Linked DNA regions of Homo sapiens: region 2 is linked to region 1. The links are contacts of gene promoters, found by promoter capture Hi-C in blood cells and fetal thymus (Javierre and others, 2016). All regions are on one chromosome and are shown on one strand. The core of a region is centred on a gene start or on the middle of the fragment in contact, and the rest is flanking DNA. Distances in the headings are between cores, read along the strand shown.

What was found. The method cuts DNA at HindIII sites, captures the fragments that hold promoters and counts their contacts. A CHiCAGO score of 5 or more calls a contact.
Region 2: a contact is called between the fragment with the promoter of RXFP3 here and the fragment with the promoter of SLC45A2 in region 1, in 13 of 17 cell types (neutrophils, activated CD4 T cells, naive CD8 T cells and 10 more). The highest score is 18.3, in neutrophils.

What each region holds. Positions count from the first base shown.
Region 1 is chr5:33,983,317-33,986,034 of GRCh38, forward strand. SLC45A2 (solute carrier family 45 member 2) reads right to left here and starts at 1,377. Exons shown (of 7, transcript NM_016180.5): 1 at 883-1,377. The coding sequence starts at 1,267. The HindIII fragment of the contact is 8,753 bases long and covers 1-2,718 here.
Region 2 is chr5:33,935,003-33,937,720 of GRCh38, forward strand. It overlaps RXFP3 (relaxin family peptide receptor 3), which reads left to right and starts at 1,384. Exons shown (of 1, transcript NM_016568.3): 1 at 1,384-2,718. The coding sequence starts at 1,739. The HindIII fragment of the contact is 5,701 bases long and covers 308-2,718 here.

The sequences.
Region 1 (2,718 bases), core at 127-2,626:
AGATTATATACACGTTTTAAAAATTGCAGTATAAAATTAAATGAACAATAAGTCTACCCGCCACTTCTCACCTCCTGTCCTTCAGTAATCCTCCTTAGAGTCAACAATGCTTATCAGCTTTTTGTTCATTCTCCTGGAAATATCCTACATTTGTACATTTACGCTTTCTTTCAAATATGTACAAATGATAATTGATTATCCTGCCTCATAATCACCGATTCTGCTAGCTTGAGAGTTAATGATCTACAAATGTGTGCTATTTTTAGCGATCCTTTTTGCAATGCAACTTTATTGTACTACCATCAATTACTGATTAATTGGTAGCTGATTAATGGCTAGAAAAAATGCCTACCCTCAGGTTTGCTTTTGTCCAGAATTTGCAATGCCAGAAAGGTCCTCTTGAGCTGATGGGCTTATGCCCTACGCCTATTAAAACGCTCTACATAAAACTATGAACAGAATTAACTTATTTGGATACACAGGTGACTTATTGTAAATATTTATGGAGCTATTTGGCAGCCAGTCAATTTGATAAGAGTATTAAATAGAGCATAATGGGCTCAAAAAGTAACTCAATTGATAAATATGTAAAAATATTCAATTCGATAAAATAGATACAAATTTAATAAAATAGATACAAATTTAATCCTATTTTTAAATCTTCACAACAATGAAACATATTTATTTTGATATTTCTAGAAGTAGAGGCTCCCCAACCACAGAATCTGGGCCAAATTTGTCAAAGGGGAAGTTCATTGTAACCTAGGAGAGATCAATTCTAACAAATTTCTAGGAAAGGTCAAACACATGAACATCCTCCTCCTGCAGAGGTACACACTAAGACACATATCCCTGTCTGCCCACCTTGTGCAGCCCACTTACCTGCTACAACAGTAGCCCCATTGAGGTACAGAGCCATGCCCACGAGCATCATGACTCCCAGGGTGAGGATGTAGGGTCTCCGGCGGCCCCACCTGGACCGGCAGTGGTCGCTGGCCGATCCGACCACGGGCTGCAGCAGGAATCCCAGGATGGGGCTGAGGAACCACACAATGCTGTACAGGCTGCTGGGCAGACCTACGCTGAGCAGGACTGGGGTCACATACGCTGCCTCCACCGCGTAGCAGAACTCTCTTCCGAACATGGCCATGCTGTGCATGATGAGTCTGCTGGTGGGTCTTTTAGGCGGCTCCACAGAGTCAAAGGGGCCATCATCAGCTAGGGATTTATAGATGTGGCGGCCAGCCTGCCCACTGTTGCTACCCATGGCCACTGGGAGAGGAACCTTCCTGCGAGCCCACCACCTCCTGCGTGGTCCTAGGGTCTGTGTTTCAAACTGGATTTGACGTGGAGCCTGGCCGAGCAACCAACAGAGATGGTCAGGCTGGGGGAGGGGCTCAAATTCTTTCCTGCCTCTAAGATCACAAGTTATGATGAGAGGGAGGGGGTGGTGCTGGAAAGCATGACAGAGATTAGCAGCTGTGAATCAGCCCTCTGGCTCCATAAGACGTTGGAATACTTTTCTAAAGGGATCCTCCTTTGTACTGTTCCCTCTCTCTTTCTCTCTCTCTCACACACACACACAATTACACGTGATCACACACATGGCTTCTCTCCCTCTCACACACACGTTATTACACGTGATCACACACATGGGCTCTCTCAGACAGTATTACACATGATCACACACATGGTTTCTCTCTCACACACACATGCTATTACACATGATCACACACGTGGCTTCTCTCACACACACATTATTACACATGATCACACACATGGCTTCTCTCACACACACGCTATTAAACGTGATCACACCTGGCTTCTCACACACACATGCTATTACACATGATCACACACGGCTTCTCACACACATGCTATTACACATGATCACACACATGGCTTCTCTCACACACATTACACATGATCACACATGGTTTCTCACATACATGCTATTACACATGATCACACACGGCTTCTCTCATGCATGTTATTACACATGATCATACACATGGCTTCTCACACACATGCTATTACACATGATCACACATGGCTTCTCTCACACACATTACACATGGTCACACATGGCTTCTCTCACATGCGTTATTACACATGATCATACATGGCTTCTCTCTCACATGCTATTACACATGATCACACATGGCTTCTCATGCATTTTATTACACATGACCACACACATGGCTTCTCTCACACACGTTATTACACATGGTCACACATGGCTTCTCTCACGTTATTACACATGATCATACATGGCTTCTCTCACACATTATTACACATGACAGCTTCTCTCTCACACACTATTGCACATGATCACACATGGCTTCTCTCACACACACATGCTATTGCACATGATCACACATGGTTTCTCTCTCACACACGTTATTACACAACGATCACACACGGCTTCTCTCTCATACACATTATTACACATGACCACACACATGGCTTTTCTCTCACACACACTATTACACATGATCACACATGGGGCTTTTCTCGTTATTACACATGATCGGACTCATGGCTTCTCTCACACACACATGCTATTACACATGATTGCACACATAGCTTCTCTCTCACACACGTGTTATTACACATCACACACGGCTTCTCACACACGTTATTTTACACGATCACACACATGGCTTCTCTCACACACGTTATTTTACATGATCACACACATGGCTTCTCTCTCACAGA
Region 2 (2,718 bases), core at 134-2,633, 48 kb before region 1:
TTTTTCTCTTTCTTTTCTTTTCTTTCTTTCTTTCTTTCTTTCTTTCTTTCTTTCTTTCTTTCTTTTTCGTTTTTCTCTTTCTTTCTTTTTCTGTTTCTTATCTCCTCAGCTTGAAGGTTGCATCCTCTTTATCTCCTTAAGTAAAGCTGGGAGTTCTGTAGTACTCCAGGAGTGAGGACAATTATGCTTAAGAAACTTTGGTTTCAGTTTAGTCCCAGACCAAGAGGAAAACATTTCAAAATTTTAAAGTAAATCCTAAAAGTGTAATTTACACCAGAGCGATTGACCTGGCATTTATGTAGACTGAAGCTTGAGAAGTAATTCAAGTGGTTTCCACTCATTCCCTTGGAAGAGTCCTTAGAATGTACTTCCATTGGTCTGAAAAACGCCTGAAAAAGAGTCCTGATGCTAACAGTAATGGAAATAGGAGGGCTGGTGGTTCACGATCAGCCCAGTGGTATCCTCTATTCTATTTGCATCTAGGTAAAGAGACTGTGGCCTGTATGTGATCAAACAATTTGTTGAAGCGCTTTGGGCTTAGGGCATTTAATTTCTGTGAAGTAGGACCATCAGTTGTTTGCTCTGTTTTTGTGTCACCTCTCAGAATACATTAAAGTAGGGGCAACCCTTGAGCCCAGACTTCTGCCATGTGAAGACCCTTTGAAAATCCTGACAAACACAGGTACTGCGTAAGTGGTCAGCTAATTAAAGAGGGGAGGTGGAGCTGTCCTTTGTGTATCCAATAAGTACCCATTATCTCATTTGAGCATGAAAAGAGGCCACTGTTATTACTTTCAAGAAGGAAAGTAAGCAGGATAGCTCATATTTTTAGAACAATTCCTCACCAAATGGAATAATTCCGGTGAAAAGTGGGAGTGAGGAAGAAAGAAAAAAAAAACTTCTAATCATAATGTTTGGGAATAAGAAAGGAAGAAGAAACTCACGTCAAAGCCGACTTTCTCCTGCAGCTGTAAAATAAACTCTTAAGACCCTTCCTGCTGAAACTCTGGAGAGGAAAACTGGAGTGGCGGGTGGGCTTTGCCTGCAGCTCAACTCTCCCTCGCGGCGCGGGCGCGGCTGGGTTCAGCACCTCGGAAAGCGCCCCTCGCGGCGCCCCGGGATTACGCATGCTCCTTGGGGCCCGCCGCCTTGGCCGTGCAAGTGCCACCGTAACTGGTGAGAGCCGCTGGCAACCCACCCGGAGTTGACAACCGCGGAGAGACGCAGACACCCACTGACCTCCAGGAAGCTGAGCGTGGTGGATGGAACTCTACGATCTCTTTCTCTCCAAGGACGGAAACCTCATCCAAGCAGTCCCAGAGGAAACGGATAAAGGTATTTGAAAGGGAGCGAGCGGCCCCAAATCGCACAATTGAGCGGCTGGGGGAGTTATGCGCCAGTGCCCCAGTGACCGCGGGACACGGAGAGGGGAAGTCTGCGTTGTACATAAGGACCTAGGGACTCCGAGCTTGGCCTGAGAACCCTTGGACGCCGAGTGCTTGCCTTACGGGCTGCACTCCTCAACTCTGCTCCAAAGCAGCCGCTGAGCTCAACTCCTGCGTCCAGGGCGTTCGCTGCGCGCCAGGACGCGCTTAGTACCCAGTTCCTGGGCTCTCTCTTCAGTAGCTGCTTTGAAAGCTCCCACGCACGTCCCGCAGGCTAGCCTGGCAACAAAACTGGGGTAAACCGTGTTATCTTAGGTCTTGTCCCCCAGAACATGACCTAGAGGTACCTGCGCATGCAGATGGCCGATGCAGCCACGATAGCCACCATGAATAAGGCAGCAGGCGGGGACAAGCTAGCAGAACTCTTCAGTCTGGTCCCGGACCTTCTGGAGGCGGCCAACACGAGTGGTAACGCGTCGCTGCAGCTTCCGGACTTGTGGTGGGAGCTGGGGCTGGAGTTGCCGGACGGCGCGCCGCCAGGACATCCCCCGGGCAGCGGCGGGGCAGAGAGCGCGGACACAGAGGCCCGGGTGCGGATTCTCATCAGCGTGGTGTACTGGGTGGTGTGCGCCCTGGGGTTGGCGGGCAACCTGCTGGTTCTCTACCTGATGAAGAGCATGCAGGGCTGGCGCAAGTCCTCTATCAACCTCTTCGTCACCAACCTGGCGCTGACGGACTTTCAGTTTGTGCTCACCCTGCCCTTCTGGGCGGTGGAGAACGCTCTTGACTTCAAATGGCCCTTCGGCAAGGCCATGTGTAAGATCGTGTCCATGGTGACGTCCATGAACATGTACGCCAGCGTGTTCTTCCTCACTGCCATGAGTGTGACGCGCTACCATTCGGTGGCCTCGGCTCTGAAGAGCCACCGGACCCGAGGACACGGCCGGGGCGACTGCTGCGGCCGGAGCCTGGGGGACAGCTGCTGCTTCTCGGCCAAGGCGCTGTGTGTGTGGATCTGGGCTTTGGCCGCGCTGGCCTCGCTGCCCAGTGCCATTTTCTCCACCACGGTCAAGGTGATGGGCGAGGAGCTGTGCCTGGTGCGTTTCCCGGACAAGTTGCTGGGCCGCGACAGGCAGTTCTGGCTGGGCCTCTACCACTCGCAGAAGGTGCTGCTGGGCTTCGTGCTGCCGCTGGGCATCATTATCTTGTGCTACCTGCTGCTGGTGCGCTTCATCGCCGACCGCCGCGCGGCGGGGACCAAAGGAGGGGCCGCGGTAGCCGGAGGACGCCCGACCGGAGCCAGCGCCCGGAGACTGTCGAAGGTCACCAAATC